Linked DNA regions of Homo sapiens: region 2 is linked to region 1. The links are contacts of gene promoters, found by promoter capture Hi-C in blood cells and fetal thymus (Javierre and others, 2016). All regions are on one chromosome and are shown on one strand. Each heading gives the region's core, a stretch centred on a gene start or on the middle of the fragment in contact. The rest is flanking DNA. Distances are from core to core; before and after follow the strand shown.

What was found. The method cuts DNA at HindIII sites, captures the fragments that hold promoters and counts their contacts. A CHiCAGO score of 5 or more calls a contact.
Region 2: a fragment that was not itself captured here is called in contact with the fragment with the promoter of TRPV4 in region 1 in 1 of 17 cell types (endothelial precursors); the score reaches 5.2 in endothelial precursors.

The regions. Positions count from the first base shown.
Region 1 is chr12:109,832,148-109,838,401 of GRCh38, forward strand. TRPV4 (transient receptor potential cation channel subfamily V member 4) reads right to left here and starts at 1,251. Exons shown (of 16, transcript NM_021625.5): 1 at 1,203-1,251. It overlaps MIR4497 (microRNA 4497), which reads left to right and starts at 1,201; the gene lies at 1,201-1,289. The HindIII fragment of the contact is 8,362 bases long and covers 203-6,254 here.
Region 2 is chr12:109,529,223-109,535,732 of GRCh38, forward strand. It overlaps UBE3B (ubiquitin protein ligase E3B), which reads left to right. Exons shown (of 28, transcript NM_130466.4): 25 at 668-850; 26 at 1,325-1,436; 27 at 4,244-4,336; 28 at 5,369-6,510. The coding sequence ends at 5,560. Among named protein-coding and RNA genes, the nearest start is that of MMAB, 41 kb to the right of the region's middle. The HindIII fragment of the contact is 1,889 bases long and covers 1,001-2,889 here.

The DNA of each region.
Region 1 (6,254 bases), core at 1-2,500:
GCTAAGGGACCAGGCCAAGGTCACACAGCAGGGGACTGCAGAGCACACCCCGGGCCCCACACAGGCCCGCTCTTAGCCCCGCAGATAACCCAGGCCTGACCTTTCTACCCTTGTTCCCCCAAAAGCCCACCTCGTCACCCTCCTCAGGAGCCCGGGGAGTCCCGACTTACCCTCTGCCCTTGCTCCGGAGCCAAAGTGGCAAAGCTTAAATCCTCAAGCGGTTCTTAGCATCCCAGAACAAAGCTCCCACAGGGTATCTGCCTAACATTTCAGGGGTTCACGGCCCCTCTGCCCCCAGCAGAGGCTCTTGTTTTAGAAGCTGAGCCAGAACAGCCACAGGGCCCACCTCTGCCCTGCCACTTCCCAAGCACCCCGGGGGCACCAGGCCCTGTGTGCAGAGCTGGCCCCAGGACAGGCCACCTGGTGTGGTGGGAAGGGCTTTGGGGCTGGATAGTCCCTGGGTTTAAATCCCAATTGTCTAGATCCCCGACCTAAGCCTCAGTTTCCCCATCTGCAAAACAGAGAGGACAGACAGAGGGAACAGCTGGGGCAGGCTGGAGCAGTGGGTGGCTCGATGAATGCATCTGTGGTTGGTGTTTCCAGGCAAGCGGGGAGTGTGGGAGTCTCTCTCTCCCCCACCCCCACCCCCGCTACCCACCCCCAGGAGCCACCCGCCCCCGGGACGTCCTGAGAGTCCAGGGCAGAACTAGAGGTTAAAGATTTTCATGCCTCTTGGAGGAAACAGCCGTCTCTCCGGGACTCAGTAACCAAGAAGAAGCCTTTGGAAGCTCCAGACTCCAAATTCCCTCCGACATGCTCAGGGGCCAAGGGCAAACCTTAGGTCCCCCGAAATCCCTCTTCCAAGTCTCCTAAGGTGGGCTGCAAGGCTCCGGGCCTTTGGTTCCCTGGCTTGGGGTCTCAGGGAACCGAACCGCCCTCCCCCCAGACCTGCTACCCCAGGCCCCACGTTGGTGCCCATTTCACAGGTGATAAAACCGAGACCCAAAGAGCCGGTGTCCGGCCCAAGGGCACTTAGCTGAGAGGCTGGCGCCTGCGGAACCTGGTGCCTTCCGTCTCCCGCGCCCCTGGCCCGCATTTTGGAGCCTCGGGACCCCCCGGAGCCGGACGGGCCACGGAGATGTCCCCAGGGGCGCGAGGGGACCTCGGCTGAGCCGCCCCTCCCGGGCCCGGGCCCCACTTACCTCCGGGACGGCTGGGCGCCGGCGGCCGGGAGATCCGCGCTTCCTGAATCCCGGCCGGCCCGCCCGGCGCCCGTCCGCCCGCGGGTCCCTCCTCCGCCGGCTCAGGTTCCAGCCGCGCGCCGCCCCCGGCCAGCTCCCCGCCCACCCGCCGGCTCGCGGACCCCGCCGAGCGCAGGCCCTAGAAGGGGCGGCCCCTACTCGCACCCCGCCCGCCCAGCGAGGGCCTCCCCTGCGGGGGAGGTGCAGGGCCAGGGCCTCAGTTTCCTCGCCTGGAAAATGGGTGTCGCGATCCCCGGATAGAGCGGCAGACGGTCTTTGGAGAGGGCTCTAGTTGGAATCGGCTCCGATTCGATCTTGCTCCGTGACTTCGGGCCGCCCTGGGACTGTGTCCTAGTCTCTAAATGGGCGTCCCGGCCCAGTCCTCCACGTGTTTGCTCATTCATTCATTCAGCAGACAATTTCCTCCGAGGCGTTGAAGGAGGTCCCTACCCTCGGGTATGGCCCATAGAGATGGTTCAGGGGTAAATAAATGTGAGCTGCTCTCCTTGGTCTTCACCCAGTGCTTACTGCGAAGCCTGCCTCGGAGTAGGCCATCAATGTTTTGTTGCTGTTGTTTTTGAGACAGGGTCTCACTCTGTTGCCCAGGCTGGAGTGCGGTGGCGTGATCAGGAATCACTGCAGCCTCAACCACCAGCGTTCAAGCAATCCTCCCGTATCAGCCTCCCTAGTAACTGAGACCACAGACGCCTACCACCATGCTTGGCTAATTTTATTTAAATTTTTTGCAGAGATAGGGTCTCACTATGTTGCCTAGGCTGGTCTCAAACTCCAGGCTCAAGCGATCTACCCACCTCGGCCTCCCAAAGTGCTGGGATTAGAGGTCTGAGTCACCGTGCCTGGCTCAATGCGTTTTTGTTTATTTTTTTTATTATTATTATTATTTTTGATACATGTTCTCCCTTTGTCACCCAGGTTGAAGTGCAGTGGCATGATCACGGCTCACTACAGCCTCAAACTCCTGGCCTCAAGAGATCCTCCCACCTCAGCCTCCTGAGCAGCTGGGAGTACAGGCATGCGCCACCACACCCCACTAATTTTTATTTTTTTGTAGAAGGGGGGGTGGGGGAGGGCAGCCGGTCTACAACTCCTGGCCTCAAGTGATCCTCCCACTTCAGTCTCCCAAAGCACTGAGAGTATAGGCATGAGCCACCACACCTACCCATGTATTTTCTTTTATCAGATAACAAAGGTGGGCCCCAACACATAGCCATACCCTCTACCCAGCACTGAGTCCACTTGAATACCTCCACAGGATGGGCAGCTCACTTCCTCCAGGGTGGTTGGAAAGCCTAGCAGGCCCACAGCTTGGCTCTGTGACTCTCTAACCCAGCAGCCCTATGCAAGTCCCTTCACCTTTGTGCCTCAGTGCCTCTACATCCCCCTGTAGAGTGGGGCATACAAAAGTCCTCACCTCACAGTCGCAGTGAAGATGCTGGGAGCATCCAGGCTGTGCAGAGCCCTTTTTTTTTTTTTTTTGAGACAGAGTCTTACTCTGTCGCCCAGGCTGGAGTTCAGGGGTGTGATCTCAGCTCACTGCAACCTCTGCCTCCTGAGTTCAAGCGATTCTCCTGCCTCAGCCTCCTGGGGGCTGGGATTACAGGCATGCGCCACCACGCCAGGCTAATTTTTTGTATTTTTAGTAGAGACAGGGTTTCACCATGTTGGCCAGGCTGGTCTTGAACCCCTGACCTCAGTTGATCCACCCACTTTGGCCTCCCAAAGTGCTGGGATTACAGGTGTGAGCCGCCGTGCCCGGCCCAGAGCCATGCCATTTTCATCATTAGTGTTTTCACTAAATTGAGCTGACTCAGGGACTGTGGGGTAGCTCCTTCCTCCTCAGCTTGAAAATAGCAGCATCTCTCCTGAGGTCCAACAGCTGGAAAGTGAAATTTTAGAATTGCTGGGTGGGGAGGCGAAAGAGAGAGAGAGAGAGTGTGTGTGTGTGTGTACCCCTGAATAGGAGTGATGTGTTCACCTCCAGCGTGAAACATTTACAAAGAAACAAACCCTAATAATTAACTCACTGAGCACAGAAGCCTAGGGGATGAGAGGGAGAACAGGCTGTGAGGTAGGGTTTGCTCTACCCATTTTGCAAGTGGGAAACTGAGGCTTGGAGAGGAGTATGGCCTCTCCAAAAGCTGCTCCCTCCATGGTGGGGGTTGGGGTGGGAAAGAGAACCCTCTGAGGGTCCGGAGTAAACAGGCAGATGTCTGGCAGTGGAGAGGAAGGTAAACACAGGGCCCCTCACACCTCCCTGACAGACAGCTATCTGCTGGGGGCCCTCAGGGCTGGGGCTGGGGCTGGGCCAGGTTGAGAGTGGAGGAGTGAGTCTGGGACCCATTTCTGCAGAAAGGCCTGTCTCAATTTAAAGAAAATGGCAAGGGTGATTCCAGCCATAAGGCAGCTGATGTTGGGGACTGGAACTGGGGGAGATGGGGCCAGGGATGGCGACCTCCTCTTCTCTAAGCTCAGAGGGAAGGGGCCTGAGCGCTCAGCATCATCATCACTAACCCAGCTCTTTCCTGATCCCCATTTCACAGATGGGGCAACTGAGGCCCCCATGTAGGGAAGTGACTCATCTTGGGCTAAGCAGCTGGAGCTTGGCCTCTGCACCAGACACTGGGGTTCAAATCCTGCCCTGCCGCTGATGGGAGAAGGAGCTGTGGTGGGAGCTGTGGGCAAGAGCCTCCCTCTCTCTCTGTGCCTCAGTTTCCTCACCTAAAAAATGGGTACCAGTGTCCATGAAGCAAGGGAACGTGTTCATGACCACAGGTCTAGCACCTGGCACTTAGTAGGTGCTTTAAAAATACTGGTTGATGGGTCAGGCGAAGTGGCTCATGCCTGTAATCCCAGCACTTTGGGAGGCTGAAGTGGGCAGATCAACTGAGGTCAGGAGTTCGAGACCAGCCTGGCCAACATGATGAAACCCCGTCTCCACTAAAAATACAAAAATTAGTTGGGCATGGTGGTGGGCACCTGTAATCCCAGCTACCTGGGAGGCTGAGACAGAATTGCTTGAACCTGGGAGAGGGAGGTTGCAGTGAGCAGAGATCGTGCCACTGCACTCCAGCCTGGGCAACAGAGAGCGACTCCATCTCAAAAAAAAAAAAAGTCCTGGTTGATGGAGCTGGGGGAGAGGAGAATGGGAGGTTGCTGTTTGTTGGGCGTAGGGTTTCAGTTTTGCAAGATGCAAAGAGTTCTGGAGATGAACGAGGGTCACACAACAATATGAATATACTTTTTAAGTTTAATTTTTAATCTTTTTTTTTTTATTTTTAGAGAGAGACAGGGTATTGCTCTGTAGCCCAGGCTGTAGTGCAGTTGCCTGCTCATAGCTCACTGCAGCCTCAAATTCCTAGGTTCAAGCGATCCTCCTGCCTCAGCCTCCTGAATAGCTGGGACTATAGGTGTGTGTCACCAAGCCTGGCTTTTTAAATTTTATTTTTTGTACAGGTGAGGTCTCGCTATGCTGCCCAAGCTGGTCTCAAACTCCCGTGCTCAAGTGATCCTCATAACCTGGCCTCTCAAAACATTGGGATTACAGGCATGAGCCACTGTGCCTAGCCAGAAATAATGTTTCCTCTTAGGGAAGGAAAAACTTTCAAGGCCCTCAGCATTGGCTGTGAGTCATGTGGCAGCCACATGTGGGGCGCAGCCTTGCTCTCCACGTAGCTCCTGGACTGCCCCAGGTGGACTCAGCTACCTCCCCTAAGAAAGGTTCCTGGGCAGCAGCCAAGGGTCTGCATTTACCAAGTGCTTACTGTATGCCAGGTCCAGTGCCAGATGCTGGGGAGAGATTGGTGAGCCAGACAGGTCAGGATCTCAGGGACTTTATACCCAGGGTACCCAGTTATAAAAACAAGACACGTGCACCTCACTTTACAGTTGGCACAGTCCTGATCCTGCCACTAACTCAGTTCATCTTTTGACAGCCTGGAAAGGAGGAATTCTTCCACCATTTTATAGATAATGACACAAAGAGGCCACTTGTCTGAGATCATCCCACAACTGGTAAGATTTGAACCCAAGCCCAGCAGACTCTACAGTGTAGCATGACCAGCAGGAATATTTTCCTGGCCAGGTGCGGCGGCACACACCTGTAATCATAGCATTTGGGGAGGCTAAGGCAGGAGAATCACTTGAGCCCTGGAGGTCAAGGCTGCAGTGAGCTGTGTTCAGGCAGCTACACTCCAGCCTGAGCAACAAAGTGAGACCCTGTCTAGGAAAAAAAGAAAAAAAGAATATGATCTCAAAAAGACAGACCATAAGTGTGGATGAGGAAGTGGAGAAGCTGGAATCTTCGCACACTGCTGGTGGGAATGTGTAATGGAGTGGCTGCTATGGAAAACGGTCTGGCAGTTCCTCCAAATATTAAATCTAGAGTTACTGCCAGGCACGGTGGCTCCCGCCTGTAATCCCAACACTTTGGGAGGTCAAGGCGGAAGGATCACTTGAGGCCAGGAGTTTGAGACCAGCCTGGCCAACACGGTGAAACCTCATCTCTAATTAAAAAAAAAAATACAAAAATTAGCCGGGCATGATGGTGGGCACCTGCAATCCCAACTACTCAGGAGGTTGAGGCACAAGAATTGCTTAAGCCCAGGAGGCAGAGGCTGCAGTGAGCTGAGATTGTGCCACTGCACTCCAGCCTGGGCAACAGAGTGAGATCCTGTCTCAAAAAAAAAAAAAAAATCTGGAGTTCCCATATGACCCAGCAATTCCACCCCAGAAATATAGCCAAGAGAAATGAGAACTTACGTCCATAGAAAAACTTGAATGTTCATAGCAGCATTATTCATAATAGCCAAAAAAAGAAAACAACTCAAATTCTCAATGGATAAACAAACACAGTATATCCACACAAAGGAATACTATTTGGCAATAAAATGAATGGTTACTGAGTCATGCAACAACATGGATGAACCTTGGAAGCAGGATGCTGAGTGGCCAGACACAAAAGGCCGCATATTACATAATTCCATTTATATGAAA
Region 2 (6,510 bases), core at 695-3,194, 300 kb before region 1:
TGTAACCTGTTGAGAGGATTATATGCTTTATGCAGTTGTAGTTGAGGGCACTGTGTTCATCACAGCAGACCCAGAGACCCTCTGCTTGGAACCATTGTAAGTTGCTCTGACTTCCCAGTTGAGTCCACTCCTAGCCCAGCTGCGTGTTTAAAGCATCTGCAGGTCCGCCTTGCCATAGCATTAGACTGTTGATCCAGATTAGCAAGGTTTTGATTAAAGTTTTGACATGAAACAATTTTTTTCTATTTTAAAACTTATTAGAGGACTGAATGGTATCTTAATTGATTTATGTCCAGAAGAATGAGATTAAATGAAAGTCCAAAAAGCACCCTTTGTACTAAGAAGGGCCCTCTTCTTACGTGGGGAATGTCTCCTTGTGATTCCCGACATAGTGGGGGCTTACCCCGAGGTGTGACCTATGGGTTTTGGGGAGGAGTGAATGATGCAGTGCCCTCAAAGGCTTGATGTGCACACAGTGGCGTATGGTGTGCAGTTCGTGAGTGCTGTCGTCATTGTCGCCATTGTCATTGTTCTGATGAAACACTCTGGTACTATTTGTGTTTTTTGTAAAATGGTTCAGAAATGACTAGACTGTCTTTCAGCCCATTGGTGACAGCCTGCCCCGTCCTGTTAATTGTCATTGTTATCTCTTCCTTGTTGGCAACAGAATTAGCTACATCCATCTGATGGCACATTTTCGAATGCACACTCAAATAAAAAACCAAACAGCTGCCCTCATTAGCGGATTCCGTTCCATTATCAAACCCGAGTGGATCCGAATGTTCTCAACTCCTGAACTGCAGCGTCTCATCTCTGGCGACAATGCTGAGATTGATCTGGAAGATTTAAAGTAAGAGGCGGGTGGGGGGAAGGGTGAAATTCCTTGGCCTCCCAGAAAGCCAGCTGCTCCCTCGCTGGGTTCCTTTTAGAGAGTTGTTTTAGGAGCCTGTCTCCAGATCTCCTTCTCCTCCCTGGACTGGCTAGACTGCTTTGGATTAAAAGCTTGACCACTTGTCTGCCTAGAGATTAAGAAGTGGAAGCAGGCCTGAGGACTGGGGGTTCTCTGAAGCTCTAGGAGATGGGGTCAGAGGATCTGGGGCTGGCCTCTGCTTGGGAACAGCAGGGCCAGCTCTCAAATTCCCCACCCTTTTAGCTTCCCAGGGAGATAGAGTTATTGAGGCATGAACTTCTGGCTTTAAGAGAAATTAGTAGTGTTCCCCAGGCCTGCCAGAGTGGACCGTGCCAGCTGTCTGCATGACCTGCCTGCCTGTCCATAAGTGCCCACGCTAGCACATTGCTGAGCCCAGGTCTGTATTGCTTTCAGGAAGCACACAGTCTACTACGGTGGTTTCCATGGAAGTCACAGAGTCATCATCTGGCTCTGGGATATTCTGGCCTCCGACTTCACACCGGATGAGAGAGCTATGTTTCTGAAGGTATTTTATTTATTACCTATGCATGCATGCATGTATTCTCATAAACCTGGAAGGCCAGTTGATGTAATAATTTACGCTGAAGAAACTGAAATTATCAGGAGGACCTCAGATAGTCAGCACATCCTCTCCCACAGGCAGGCCTCCCGGTAGGCCAAGCAGTAACCAGAGAGGGGCTTGAGGGGCACGGCCGAGCCTGCTGTGTGTCCCTGGCTGCAGGGACAGGCCCCCTGCACAGGTGGGCATACCTGTTGTGCTCGGCACTCCGTCCTCCCCTTTGCCTATGCTGGCCTTGATAACATCTTTTTTCTTTATTTCCTTTCATTATAGAAGTAAATGACCCTCTGCTTGGAACCTTACCTTAGGAAAATACAGATAAGCAAAATATTAAACAATTGCTGTTCCTCCAGTATGGAATTGTCAACTCTCTACACTCCTACTCACCAGGGACTGTCTCTCTATACCCATTTTCTCAATAGCGTAAGACACACATACACACCCACAGTGTCCCAATAAAACACACACAATTGCTTAGGCTGATATCAAGATGTATTTTTGCAAATAAAGTGGCTGACGTTAACTGGTTCCCCAGTTATGGTGTCTGTAAAAGTTGTAAATGTTCAAAATATTCCCCTAATGCCATTGCATTGTTTTTTGTTACTGACATCAGCAGTGTGTAAGTATTTCCTAGGACGCTGAATGGCACACACGCTTCTCTGTGTATGTGTTATATATGTGTATATTTCTCTAAAAATGGGATCCTATCATTTCCCACCAGCCTTCCTACTTGACAGAATATCAATGAACATTTTGCCATGTTCTGGTGGTAAATTTAGTGCCTTGAAATGTTTTCTTTTGGAGGTTTGGGCTTGAACAATCTCATGTGGCCTCATCTGTTGAGGCAACCTGGACAGTGTCACTGGCAATTAAAATGACAGCTGGTTTCCTCTCTCCTGGGTGGTCATTCTGAGGAGAGTTTATTCCTGTTGAAGAGGCCCTCACGCAGTCCAGCAGATAACACAAATGCCCCACATCCCCACAGGTCTCCGGGGATTTAGGATGGGCAGGCAGACAGAATTCCAGAAGTTGATTCTGGGAGAATCAGTTCAGTTTTCCCAGAAGTGCCTCATGGGCAAAGCAGTTTCTGCCAAGCTATAAAACGGCTCACGCTGGCCCCTCCTACAGAGGAAAACCAGTGTCTCATCATTGTGCAGGTGCTGCCCCACAAAACAGGTGTGTTTGTGCCTTTGGATAACCTGTCACCAAACCTACAGTTCCTTACCATGTGCCTGCCCTTTTGTGCAGCTGCATACAGGCCCCAGAGCCAAGCAGAAGAAATGTAACCCTTGCCCAGGAGTGGATGTGACCACGACCATGCTTCTCTTAAATGTAAAGCAAGCAGAGCATCCAGGGGTTTCCTGTGTCCTCCGCCCCTCCCCGCTCGCAGGAGCGGGAAAGCTTCCCTCCCTCCTTTCACCCACCTGAATTTGCAGCGGGCAGACCTGAGCCGGCCTAAATTGGGATGCACAGATACTTCTGTGTCTGTCCCCTTATTCTTAAAACAGGACTAACCACAGCCCCGACACACAGCATCCGTAGAGTGATTGGATGAGGTTGCATTCAGGGAATGCTCGTCACAGTGTGGAAACACAAAAATGCTTCCTGCATTGATGCTGCTATGGTTTTTATAAATAAAACATGTTAGAATAGGAATAGATCTTGTTAATACTCTTTTTAAAACTTTTTTTGATGCCCGACACACATAAACTGTCTTTGGATGGTCTCAGGAATCTCAGAACCATTTATAACAGACCCAAACCCTCAAATTGCCCCTGAGTTTTGGAGGACAGCTTGATGATGTAAGTGACAAGCCCCTGTATCCCCTAGAGAAGGGAGAACATTCTTGGCTACTGTTGAGTTAAAGTGAATGGTTTCTTGGGACACTCCTGTGCAAGTTTATCACTTAGATTTCCAGGCTGGTCAGATGCCTCTCTCCAGGCACGAGCTAGCACATTTGCAGGAATAACGCAGGGGCTGCCGCTTGGAGAACGCCGGGAGTTCCCAGGGGGTAGCAGGGAAGTGTGGCTGGCTGCCCACAGGCCCCACTTGGGCTGCCGGCACCTCAGCCTGCTCTGCAGCCTCACTGGCTCTGGGGCCTCATTTTTGTCAGTGTGCTGAGAGGTTATTAGTCTCTTGCACAGGGTCCCCCGGGGCCCCAGCACATAGACCACTCTAAATCAGCAGGCCCAGGGCTCAGGTGACTGCACCTGTGCAGTCCCCTCTGCATGAATAAGGAGCCGGCAGGATGCCAAGTGCAAGGCCAGTGAGTGCGGGTCTCCCGGGCTCCCTCTGTTCGCACCACGTGCAGTGGGTGCCACCAGCCTCCGCCTCGCCCTCACCGTCTCCCATTTTCTCCTCACATGGTCTCTCTGTGGGAGGGTGTCAGCTGCTGCTCTGTTCCTCTTAACAATCCCACAGGAGACCTGCCTCTCGGGGACGCCTCACCAGTGCCCTGGCTGGGCATTTGTGCTGTTCCTACTCTGCAGTCACACGTGCTCTCACAAGTGGCCAGTCGCACCTATTGGGTATGGGTTTCATGTGTCTTAGTCCCCGAGAGCAGCACCCTTGAGAGAGATGTACGGCGTGTGCCAGTTTTGGGGCCAGATCCACCCCGCCACTCCATACGGCTGGCTAGACAGCAGTTACAACACGGTAACAGACAGAGCAAACACGTGCTACACAGCTGCAAGGGCCCGTCCTGGAAGAGCAGGAGCCTGCCCCGTCCCCACTGACCCTGCTTTGTGTTGCAGTTCGTGACCAGCTGCTCCAGACCCCCGCTCCTGGGATTCGCCTACCTCAAGCCTCCATTCTCCATCCGCTGCGTGGAGGTGTCGGACGATCAGGTACCCCCACGGGGTGGGTGGGGAAGAGCCTTGACTTCCCTCTTGGTGGTTGTCTGCTGTGCCCACTGTGCAAGGCCCTTATCTAGTCCATATCTCAGCAAGGCAGGCAGCTGGACCCCTCAGAGCCAAGTGAGGAGGGCCCCACAGTTCTCACGGCAGGAGAACCAGCCAGCCCCAGAGAGACTGCCCACGGACTCAGCCCTCTCTCGGCAGCCCCTTTCTCTTTCCTTCCTCAGGGAAGGGTACCTGGAGTGGGGGTGGGTACGTGCTGTTTTTAGTGGCGTCTGGCCTCACCAGGGCTCCAGATCTGAGGCAGCATGGGAGAAAGTGAGAGAGTGGGCTCAGGAGGCAGGCAGGCGCAGACTCGAATGCTACTCCTACCCCAGCAGGCTGTGCACGTCCAGGCTCGCTGCTTCATTTCCTCATTGGCCAAAGGAGAAGGAAAGCCTTCAGGGTTACGGAGCTCTGTGTGTCTCAAGCCTGGCCCACTGTGGGTGCTCAAATGAGAGTCCTACTCCCCATAAAAACCCAGTGGCCGCCTCTGGGTGTAGCTGCCTCTCATGATGCAGTTTGAGCCCGTGATGCCACCTTGTACAGGAAGCTACACAGTCCTCGGCCTCCATGCTTAAGGGAAAGTTGGCCCAAGTCATGGTCTGCCACCGGCCACAGCACCGGTGAGGAGGGAGGAGTGCATTCAGAAATGTTTGGGCACCTAACAGTTTTTACAGCATTCTACTTTTTGTCAATTGGTTAACCAGTAATTCGCTGTGAACCGGAAGGCCCCATTTCCAAAAGCTTACTTAGTGCAGGAATTCTCTGTGCAGGCCCCAGGGAGAAGGGGTTCCTTCTCTGGAAGCCAGTCGTCTTGTGTCTGGGGCTTGACCTCGGGTAGTGGTGCCAGGGCAGCGCCCTGCACTCTGCCCAGCATCCAGGGACTGGCCAGATCCCCTCCCTGGGCTCCCTGGCCTTGGCATCAGCCTGGGCTCCCAAACTAGGCCCTTCCCAATTCAAGGCCACGATGTGTGCCTTCAGGACACCGGGGACACTCTGGGCAGCGTCCTCCGGGGCTTCTTCACCATCCGCAAGCGGGAGCCAGGCGGCCGCCTGCCCACCTCCTCCACCTGCTTCAACCTGCTCAAGCTGCCCAACTACAGCAAGAAGAGCGTCCTCCGCGAGAAGCTGCGCTACGCCATCAGCATGAACACGGGCTTTGAACTCTCCTAGCTCCTGTCCCAGCCCTGCCTCCAGGGCTCCTGGGCTGCCAGGGACCTTCAGCTCCCAGAGGCAGTGTGGTCCTGGGAATGTGACCAACATGCCAGGTGACATTGGCCCCTAGACCCTCTCTATAGCCATGAGACTCCTTGTGGCCTCAAGAAATTTAGACGCCCACGACAGCACTACACAGCATCTCCAGGTGATGCCCAAGGCACAGGGCTGCAGAAAATAAACCTCCAGATTCCACCAACACGGGTCCATTCTTCCTGGTGATGGCAGAGGGGCTTCTTTTAGCTAGTTTGATCTTTTGGGAGTCTGTCTTTCCTTAGCCGTCTGAGTGAGCTGTGTATGAACAAGTCCCAGGAGTTCCAAGAGTCTAGAGTGGTTTTTGCAGCATGGGTTGAGTGTACAAAGCCTACTGTGCGTGAGATCCTCTCCTTCCGTTTCTGAAATCTCTTACTCAGGTAAGGCCTCGCCAAGCCTCTATGCACCCCACAAAGTTTCTGCCTCCATGCCGTCCACAGCGCCTCTTCCCAGACAGCCAGGCCCATCTGCTGCCCAGGGAAGCGCAGGCGCCTGCTAGGGACGCTATGGACACCGTGAGTCCAAGGCGCTGCTCCTGCCTTGAAGCCACGCGCTCCACGCCGCGGCCCTCCCATTTTCTGCGTCCTCAGCGGGCTGAGCTGCCAGAGAGTCTTCCCGGACCTATTCCCGTCCTATGCATTCACATTGGCATCCTGGTTTGGGGGAAGAAAAACAACGGCCCTTAGCAGCAGCCCCGTTTCCAGAATGTGCTGCCTGTTCCCCAAAGCCTGCTTGTCCCGCGGAGGACGGCTGCCTTTGACCCTGCTTATTTGTCTCACTGGTTATCTAATGAGGAACAAACACTAACCTAAGGTACACATCCCATCTGGGCGGTGGCTTCACTCCTGAGTCTGCAAAATCCCAGGAAACTTGGG